Linked DNA regions of Homo sapiens: region 1 is linked to region 2. The links are contacts of gene promoters, found by promoter capture Hi-C in blood cells and fetal thymus (Javierre and others, 2016). All regions are on one chromosome and are shown on one strand. Each heading gives the region's core, a stretch centred on a gene start or on the middle of the fragment in contact. The rest is flanking DNA. Distances are from core to core; before and after follow the strand shown. Region 1 overlaps SAXO1 (stabilizer of axonemal microtubules 1). Region 2 holds the start of ADAMTSL1 (ADAMTS like 1).

Evidence for each region. The method cuts DNA at HindIII sites, captures the fragments that hold promoters and counts their contacts. A CHiCAGO score of 5 or more calls a contact.
Region 1: a contact is called between a fragment that was not itself captured here and the fragment with the promoter of ADAMTSL1 in region 2, in 1 of 17 cell types (endothelial precursors). The highest score is 7.4, in endothelial precursors.

Annotation. Positions count from the first base shown.
Region 1 is chr9:19,011,817-19,017,229 of GRCh38, reverse strand. All of the region lies in intron 1 of SAXO1 (stabilizer of axonemal microtubules 1), which reads left to right. Among named protein-coding and RNA genes, the nearest start is that of SAXO1, 19 kb to the left of the region's middle. The HindIII fragment of the contact is 5,353 bases long and covers 1,160-5,413 here.
Region 2 is chr9:18,471,025-18,476,364 of GRCh38, reverse strand. It overlaps ADAMTSL1 (ADAMTS like 1), which reads right to left and starts at 2,212. Exons shown (of 29, transcript NM_001040272.6): 1 at 2,070-2,212. The coding sequence starts at 2,132. The HindIII fragment of the contact is 3,309 bases long and covers 53-3,361 here.

The DNA of each region.
Region 1 (5,413 bases), core at 2,587-5,086, 540 kb before region 2:
GTCACTCCAGATTTTTTGGCATCAATTGATCTTTTTTTTTCTTTTTCTTTCTCTCTTCTTTCTGCCTTTGCCCTTTGCCTTTGCCTTGCAACAAGTTCTCACTATGTTGTCCAGGCTGGTCTCAAACTCCTGGGCTCAAGCAATCTGCCCACCTCTGCCTCCCAAAGTGCTAGGAGTACAGGCATGAGCCACCATGCCAGGCCCAATTGGTCTGCATTGAAGTTGCAGAGGGGAGCTTCTGATTGACCAGGCCTTGGTCACATGCTCAGGCCTCACAGAGGAAGGTGGGTGGTTGTCAGGGGCGTCTCACTTTTTGGTTTCTGTAGTGGCGGGTGGGCACTGCCTTCCACAAGATGAATATGGTGGGAATTCATCAAACGAAAGGTATCTCAAAAAATGTTAGGTAGCTAAAAAAAAAAAAAAAAAAAAAAGTCAGATGTTAGATAGTTAAAAGAAAATGGCTAGCGAAAAATAATAACTTTTGTTTACATTTCTGTATTCATTTATGAAAAGGCTCAACTTAGGTTAGAGCAGGGTTTCTAATCTGTGGCACCAATGGACATTTTTTGTTGTGGGGCCTGTCCTGTGCATTGTAGGGTGTTTAGCAGTATCCTTGACCACTACCCACTGGATGCCAGTGGCACCTACCCCACTTTTGACAATCAAAAATGTGTCTGCACATTGCCACATGTTTCCTTGGGGGCAAAATTGCCCCCACCTGAGAATCACTGGGCTAGAGGCATTCTCAAGCCATGGGTTATGCTTTTATTTATTTATTTACATATTTATTTTTTGAGAAGGAGTCTTGCTCTGTCGCCCATGCTGGAGTGCAGTAGCGCAATCTCGGCTCACTACAACCTCCGCCACCTGGGTTCAAGCGATTCTTCTGCCTCAGCCTCCTGAGTAGCCGGGACTACAGGCGTGCACCACCATGCCCAGCTAATTTTTGTACTTTTAGTAGAGACAGGGTTTCACCATGTTCGTCAGGCCGGTCTCGAACTCCCGACCTCAGTGGATCCACCCGCCTCGGCCTCCCAAAGTGCTGGGATTACAGGCATGAGCCACCATGCCTGGCCGGGTTATGCTTTTATAGCCTTGCATTAATGGCTTTATCACAGGAATGGATCTTATATTATTGTCCTTGGAGAGGGACAAAGCTTTTCTCATGATGGTGCCCTTCCCCTGCATGTGAATGTCTGAATCTTCAGTATTCTCAGCCTTCAGTGTACCTGAGAATCAACTGGAGAGCTGTTTGAAGGATGCCAATTTCTGGGCCCTACTTCATACACTTTAATTCTGTGGGTCTGAGGCTCAGGAATCTGCAAGTTTTAACAACTTTGGTGATTCAGATGCAGGTGGGTGATGGACTACACTTTAAAAAACACATGGTTACTTCATTGAGTGTCAACCTCAAAAACACAAAGGTGTGTTTTTTCAAAAAGAAGAGATATGTCTGGGTGCCATGGCTCATATCTGTAATCCCAGCAACTTGGGAGGCTGAGGCAGAAGGATCGTTTGAGGCCAGGAATTTCAGACTAGCCTGGGCCACATAGTGATACTCAGTCTCTTAAAAAAAAAAAAAAAAAGGGCCAGGCGTGATGGCTCATGCCTGTAATCCCAGCACTTTGGGAGGCAGAAGTGGGTGATCACTCGAGGTTAGGAGTTTGAGACCAGCTTGGCCAACGTGGTGAAACTCCATCTCTACTAAATATACAAAAATTAGCCGGGCGTGGTGGTACACACACATAATCCCAGCTACTTGGGAAGTGGAGGCATGAGAATCACTTGAATCCGGGAGGCGGAGCTTGCAGTAAGCCAAGATCACGCCACTGCACTCCAGCCTGGGTGACAGGATGAGACTCTGTCTCAAAAACAAAAAATAACAAAACAAAAATAATTAGCCAGACATGGTGGTGCACACTTGTAGTCCCAATTACTTGGGAGGCTGTGGCATGAGGATTGCTGGAGCCCAGGAGCTTGAGGCTGCGGTAAGCCATGATCATGCCATTGTACTCCGGGCTGGTTGACATAGGAAGGGATACAATTTTAAGACTTGCAAATCTTTTTAGTTATTGATTAAAAAGAAGCAAGGTAAAGATGCTGTCTGTCCTTAGGCTTTTTTGGAAGGGGTTGTGTGGAAGCAGCTTTGACACGTGACACCAGCACTTAACGCCCTTCATCATCATCAGCAGAAGTACTCTCTCTCGTTTTTTAGCTCTGATTTGCCTTACATCTTTCTCAGGAAAGGATCGTTTACTCTCCACCCCCTTAAGTATTAGAGAAAACTCAAGGGGAGGTTTTTATGTTTTCACGATCTCTGAGGTCTCTTCACTGGTCTTGTTTATTGGTCTTGACTTCCTAACCCCGGCAGGAAGAGGGAACACTGACCCTCAGCAGCACTGGCTTTATTTTTCATGTAGAGCCTCTATGGTTGGATGTTGTCCAACATTCAGTTGTTCCCCAGGAACGGAGGAGACAACAGGTAGGTAATACCTGTGACAAAGCTGTGGACCTCCTGAGCCTCTAAGCCCCTCTCAGAGGAAGTCTTAAATCTATGAAAGAAGATCCTATCCACTGACAAAGCATCTTGTAGTTTCAAAGTATGTTTGGTGGCTTCTTTGAGCTACTTGGTTCTATTTTCACTCCTCTATCTGGGGCTAGTCAGTGATATTTCCGATAGCAATTTTTCTAAAACTCCTATCAGGCAATTTTGCCAATTTTTTTTTAAATTTTTAAAATTTAATTAATTAACTTTTTTTTTTTTTTTTTGAGACACAGTTTCGCTCTGTTGCCCAGGCTGGAGTGCAGTGGCGTGATCTCAGCTAACTGCAACCTTGCCCCCCAGGTTCAAGGGATTCTTGTGCCTCAGCCTGCCGAGTAGCTGGGATTACAGGTGCCCACCCCCACGCCCAGCTAAGTTTTTGTATTTTCAGTAGAGATAGGGTTTCTCCACGTTGGCCAGGCTGGTCTTGCACTCCTGGCCTCAAGTGATCTGCCCACCTCAGCCTCCCAAAGTGCTGCGATTACAGGTGTGAGCCACCGTACCCGGTGATTTTTGCCAATTTAAAGCCTTTGATAGTTCTCCATTGATTACAGAACAAATTCTACCCTTAATCAAGCCCCTACTCTACCTTTCCAGCCATTCCTCCTCATGCTGCCTGTGTTCCAGGCTCACCAAACTATCCTGAGGACGTTTAACTCTCTGTATACTAACTTTATTCATACGTTGTTATTAACTATACTGACAACCTGTATTTCAGACTCACCAGACTCTGTTACAGACTAACATGCCCAGCTCACGAACTGGGTGCCTGCTAAATATTTTTTCTAAAAAGTGCATATTGGCTGCTAACATGTAAAATCTCATGAGTTTTAAATATCTGGGCTGGGCGTGGCGCCTCACACCTGTAATCCTAACACTTTGGGAGGCCGAGGCGGGTGGATCACCTGAGGTCAGGAGTTCAAGACCAGCCTGGCCAACATGGTGAAAACCCGTTTCCACTAAAAATACAAAAATTAGCCAGGCATGGTGATGCACGCCTGTAATTCCAGCTACTTGGGAAGCTGAGGCAGGAGAATCACTTGAACCCGGGAGGCAGAGGTTGCAGTGAGCGGAGATTGTACCACTGCATTCCAGCCTGGGTGACAGAGCCAGACTCTGTCTCAAAAAAAAAAAAAAAAAAAAAAAATCCGTACTTTTAGTTTCTTCTGAAATACCAAAAGACGTGACAGTATTGTGACTGCATTCCTAAATGGTAATGGTCAGCTCTTGCCCTGAGACAGGATGTGTTCTATCTATAGCCATCATGGAAAAAGGTAAGGGGAAATACTGTGAAACTTTCCCCTCCTATTTCCCACAAGAGGGCAATCTAATCTCTAAGAAAGTAAAAGGGACTGGCGTTGCAAAATCTGCTATTATAGCCTGGCTTTGTTACCCCCGCAGTGGTGAAGATCTTTAGGCACCCACCTGCATTTCGTGTGCTGAATTGCCATGCCTTATGCCTTATGCCTTGTGCTGTTATTTAGTCTTTCATCGCTTCTCGGCCTTTTGGCTAAGATCAAGTGTATTTAGTCTTTCACAAATTCCTTTTTTTTTTGGTGTGGTTCCCCTCCAGGATCTATCTGGAAGGCCAGTTTGATGAAAAGGCATGCAAGAGGTGCCTGTGTGTAGCTTCTGGAGCCACCTTCAGCCTAGGTGGAGGTTGTGAAAGGTTGGCAGAGGCCTGATGAGGCAGGGTTGTTTCTAGAGAAAAGCGTGACCTATAGAAACAACCTCACAGCCTAGCATTACTTGATGGTGCTTTTTGTTGGTGCAGAATCTTGATTTCTGTCAGCACCCTGAGAGAGCAGCCCCCTGAGCTCCGCAGCGCCTCCCTTAATATTAACCTGGCTAATACAGACTGCTGTGTAAACTGAAATGCCAATTTATTTAGAATGAGACAGATCTACTGAGAGTGCCTAGAAACTCATTTTTGCTGGTCAGAGTATACTTTCTGTTTAGAAAAATTAAAAGTAAGCCAAAATATAATCACAGGTTGCTTGTCTGAGTTCTAAGCAAGGGGACTGCTGCCATTTGCACGTTCTGATGTATCCTTCTGAGATTAGGGACTGGGTGGGTTGAGCCCCTCTGCCAGGCCTCCTTATCCAGACAGTGCTTGTAGGTACCTTGCTAGAGTTGCCCATCTAACTCTGTGCCCACCGTCCCCCATATGGTTCGTGCCACATTGACATATCTTTAGATATACCAACACCACAAAGTTGATTACATTCACATGTAGCATTTTTCACTCTAGGTCCTATTTACAGTTGTCTATTACAGATTATTTTAATAATTCAGACCTAAGGATTTGGGGAGGATTAGGGGTGAGGCGCCCTAGCGCCTCTAACTGTCCCTAAAGAGATTGCAGAGGTTTCAGAAAGTAAAACTAGCTCTTAACCCCCAGATGGTAAGTGGTATAGATGAGAGAAAAAGGCTCTAAATCTTATTTTCTCTAGTTTTTCTTCTCTTTATTTGCCTTTGGTCAAAAGAAAACAAACATCTATATGCCTCATCTTTTTTCCTCTCTCATTAAAAAAAATCTATCCTTGCCGGGCGTGGTGGCTCACGCCTGTAATTCCAGCACTTTGGGAGGCCAAGGTGGGCGGATCATGAGGTCAAGAGATCGAGACCATCCTGGCCAACATGGTGAAACCCCGTCTCTACTAAAAATACAAAAATTGGCCGGGCATGGTGACCTGCGCCTGTAGTCCCAGCTACTTGGGAGGCTGAGGCAGGAGAATTGCTTGAACCTGGGAGGCAGAGGTTGCAGTGACCTGAGATTGTGCCACTGCACTCTAGCCTGGCGACAGAATGAGACTCCATCTCAAAAAAAAAAAAAAATCTATGCTTAATAATGGTAAAATTGAAATGGTT
Region 2 (5,340 bases), core at 963-3,462:
CAAACATGTTCTATTCTCTCCATTATTTGACCTTTGGGTTCAAATGCAAGCTTATTTCATTGCCTGAAAAAACGGGTTTAAAATGTCTTATCTGTATGATTATTGTAAGGATTTATTGTAATGATTTTCAAACAACTAGCCACATTCAGACACAAAATACATGACAGCTATTACTAATGCTGTTATTGCTTGGCAAAGGGATGTATGTAAACATCAGTCAGTTCTTCCTTTTGTAGCATAACTCTCAGATTTCCACTTAATTTAAATGCAGGCATAAAACAAACCTAGGTTTGTTTTAATTTTATCTTTATAATACAATTATTGTAATTTAAATATGATATGTTTTAAGTCCTTCTGAAATAAGCATACATACCTTTTCATTCCACATAAGTCAAATTATATGCTCTAATACATATATGAATATTCAAGATATCACAGAGGGATATAATGCGTTTACCAAATGGATAGCAAAACAATCTATTCCTGAATGGGAAAGTTTTACTAAAGTATAATGAGATCATACTTCCATATGAAAATATCAAAAAAGTAATGTATACTGGTAATTTGCTTTATGATGCAATATAATGGGAAAATAACACACACTTAAAAAAATCACAAAGAAGGAAAGATGAGACAAACTAATGGTGTATACAAGTAACACATCCCATATGGAAAAAATGAGACACCTTTCATAAATCGCTTGCTCCACAAGTCATAAAGCATACCTAAACATTCTGTTCTTTGTATTTTTCAGAACAGCTAAAACTTATAGTTCATTCATGCTTGAAATGTAGTTTACCTTTAAATTTCTATGAAAAATTAAAAATTTATTTCTATATTTATAGCACTTGCAATGCAGCATTATAATTTCTTAGCTACAATGATGCAAATCATTAAGAAGTGGGAATGTATAAAATATTGAATCACTGTCTGATTACTCTATTTGATGAATCTCCTGGACTTTTTCAGTTTGTACCAAATGGCTTTCTTCCCTACTTCAAAATTATAGCGCAGATCAGATTTGTCAGAATATAATCAGAACAAACATTCCTTCCCCATCAAGGAATCAATGCAACCTATTCATTTGCTACATTTTTACCTTGTTCTCTTCCTGCCTTGTTACCTTCTGAGGAAGTTCTGGCATGTTATAAATGTGACAGGAAAAACTACAATCACATTTGTTTGGATCAGTGTGTGCAAATTTTGGAATCAAACCTTCAGATGAGGTTTACTAAGCTGCCTGCCCAGAACACTCTGGTTTAAAAAATGTGCATTGCTATTAATATTTTGAGTGTAGATTTATTTTGGACAGTAAATGTTCATTTTCTGCCCATAAAACCAAGTATGAGTCACAACGGAACATTTACTTCGAGTCAAAAATGCAATGTGTACTGACGTTCAAGAGCAGAGCATCTTATCACTATGACTGTGGCAATCAGCCGTACTAAAAGTCACCATTCCTTTTTCTTCTTTAAAAGTAAATTTGAGATCAAAGGCCATAATCCTCAATTCATAAATCCTAGCATTAACTTCTATCCATAAATGACTTGCAGTAATTAAGAGCCATAATCTGGGTTGGCTGCAAAGAGGCTCTCATTCCCCTCTTTACCTGGTTCCATAGTACATGTGCATAGATGGAAAGTAATTCATTAAAGGCGGTACGGGCAAGCTCTGCAAAGCCTATCCATCAAAAAATTCCAGGAACACCACAGTGAGTGAGTTTAATTTCAGGATGTCTGTTATCCAAATTCCAAGCATACACACCACCATATATACAGTCCTCAGCTCCCAAACTCCATGCAGTATGTCCCAAAGTTCATGTCTCAGTATCAGTATTACTGTATAGCAGTAACTAATTCCAGAAAGTCTTGCAGACTTTATCTTGCTTGGGAAGTTGAGGTTAAAAGTTCTAGAAGGAGTATTCTCTCTTTGTAATCGTGTAAATTATTTTACCTGGAGTTTTAAGATAAAGACACACACACACACACAAACACACATACACACACACACCCCCAACAGCACCCAGACTCAATGGCAATAGCAATGCATTGAAATGAAAAGGCATTTACCAGGAGCAGGAAAGCCAGAAAGAGGAGCAGTGTGCCAGGAGTTGCCCGACGGCAGCATTCCATGCTTGGATCCTTGCCGGAATCAGAATCGGACACTGAATAAGCTGCTAAGTGCTCCTCTGCCTGCTGTCACATCCAGTACTGGTGCTAACACTCCAGTCCTGCCTATCAGCTTCCATCAGCCCCTCTCACATTTCCTGACCGAGGGGTGGGTGGGTGGATGGGTGGGGGGTAAGCTGAATGGAATCTCTCTCGGAGCAGGCAGCCAGCCAATCAGGCTCCTGCTAATCAGACATGCTGAATAACAAAGCCAGGAGGACAGAGAAAGTGTAACGGTGCGAGCAAAAAAGGGGGAAAAGGACGAAAAAGAAAGGCGAGCGAGCAGCAGAGCGAGAAGGGAAATGCAAAAGATGCAGAATTGCAAAAGATGAAGCCAAGCACTGTGCTTCCCATGGACCTGGTTAGTTCTTTGTGAGATGCATTTCTATTTGCCATTTGCCTGTGCTGATGTCTGTTGCTTTGTAAAGTACAGTAGCTCCCTGTGACTGTGTATTGTTCCATTCAGGAGAGAAACTTAATCCCTGTCAATATATAACATATGCCATAAAGGGAAAGAACCATAGACAAAAACCGACTTAATGTGCCCTGTAAATGTGTTCTGTACAACTGTTTTATTTCGCCTCCATAAAGTTCCTCTTTACTTTCTCTCTTGACTTGCAAAATAAATACTCTATACATTTTCTGAAGGTTCCTCACTAAGCCTAAACAGTGGCATAAGTTATTTTGTGTTATTAAGGACTTAATTTGGGGGGAAAAAAACAAAGCAAGTTGCTTCTCTGTAAAGTGACAATTGAAGGCATTTAAGATTTGCTAATTGTAAAGGCACAATTAGAAACTTAGATCCCCCAGTTTAAAAAGAAACCCTCAACAAAGACTCCAGGATGAGTGGGGCTGAAATTTGGGGTTGAGGAGCAGCCTGGTTTTGATGCACTGCCAACTCTCAACTATCTATTTTAGCCACGGGAGAGAAAGAAAGGATGAATTAAATCCTCAGTTAATCCCCAAACCTTCTTTTAACCAAGTTTCAGCTTCCTCCGCACCTCACCCACGTCCTTTATCAGAGCTGTTATAATGCAGAAAAGGCTGAACTGAGTTTTACCTCATTTTTCCATCCACTATTGCAAGAGGGTTGGATGGGATGACCTTGGAGGCCAGTCCAGCCCTGAAGGAAGTGCTAATGAGCAGTGAAATGACGACAAGGCCAGCAACAGCAACGAGAAGGTCAGGAAGCTTCTGAAGCTGCTTAATCCACCAGCAAGGGAGATTTGACTCTACTAGAGGAAGGTTTTATTACAGTTTTAGAAAAGTGTCAAATGTCAAACAAGGATGTATTTCCCCTTATCTGCAAAGGAAATCATTGAGTTTTGAAAGAATAAAAGAGCAGCCCTGGCCTTACATTGCCATAGGTGTGTCATCAGGACGTTTTCCCTTTTCAGATCTCCTGATAGCCCAGAAATATATGCAGTGGAGGTACAAGACATTTAGAATTAATGTTCTTTCCTTTCATTATTAAAAAATACTGACAAGAGGTATGAAACACACGAATATGGAAAACCTGATCAAGCCATAATGGGCATGTGAATACAGGCAGGTCTGCCTATGTACATACCTGCTGCGTTGCTTTTCAAAAAGGTGAAGAAAAGCAGGTTGTTCAACTTTAGGTTACCTACTTCATATGGTATATCAATTAAAGAGAGAGAAACTTTAAAAATCCTATTTTCATGCTGTTAGGAAAGTCAAGGTCATACAAAGATTATCCTTTGTTCTCAATATTAAGTATGTGGACCTAGAAAAATGGACAGTACAAATCCATAACAAAGAGAGCCCATTCTTGAAATATGCTTTTCCCTTTTAGAAAGATTTGTTTTACAAATCTCTCAAAAACTAGCTAATGCTCATAAGCTAAAGCGTATTCACAAGTAGATGTAAAAATGCTTAACTTTGTCTTTCCACTATTGTTTTTGTCTGAAATCCTCATCACATTAAAGAAAGGTGATTGATTGAAATAAACTTTCATTCATAAAGCTATGTTACATGTGTCTCTCTGTTACACACCAGAGCTTTCTGCTAAAGGGTTTATTTTTTTCCCTCCTATCACAGTCATTAACTGAAGAGTTTCAGCTAGTTCTATTAATGGAACATTTTACCTAATACCACCTCCTCCCTCTTCACACATAAACCCTGCTCATTAAGCAGATCCAAAGGGAAGAATAGGTAATGGGAGAAAGAAAAGTAGCAACAAAGCTAATGATGAGATACTATTTGTAGAGGAACAGAAAAATAATCAGCATGGTCAGAAAATAACTGGGAACCACTTACATGCTAGTTTAGATTCTTTTCTGCTTTGCAAATAAATACTGCCTAGGTATTTTGAGTCAGAAATTTCTGCCTTGAAGTTTTAATGGGCATGCTAATGTACAGCAAGATGGTCATCTCAATGAAGTCACCGAATAATATACTATTTTAAAGTTAAGCCCTCAATCACCTGTTGAATGCCTGGAGGATGCCCACCACACTGTCTCATGCTTCTGATTCCTCACAGCATTTTCTTTCCTCTTGGGAATACCCAGAGAAACTAGGAAAAGCAATTGCACATCCAGAGCTACACAGTACAGGTGAAATTACAAATTTACTATAACTTCAGAAAAGGGAGAACAAAATCAAGTTGGGTTAAGGTGACTGGGAAAAGTTTTGGTCATGAACTAATTTTGATGATGGCCAAAATGTACATGCCATCTTTATGGTTTACAAAGTGATTTTACATTTATGATCTCATTTGACCTTTGTGACTACTTTTTGAAATTAAGTAATCACCCCATTTTATGTACGTGGAAACTGAGGCTCAGAGAAGTTAAGTGACTTGACTAAAGCTTTGCTGGCTAGAACTGGCCATTGAGCCACGGTTTACCGAATCTAAATCCACCCTCATCTCATATTCATATATATGCATTATATCTATATATGATGTATACACATACATATATTCAGATGTTGGCAGTGATGTTGTTGAAGGGGGATGTTTATAGGAAAAGGAAAGTAGGCTACCAGGGTTTACCATGGGTATATGTTACCTGACGATGGAAAGTATCTTATTTTAGCCTCCAGCTTCTATGTGTCTTGACTTTCTCATTTCTAAAACGTTTTCAGCACCTAGGAAAAGTAATGTAAAACTTTAGGTAATCTAGATCCATATTAATGGCAACCGGGGAAA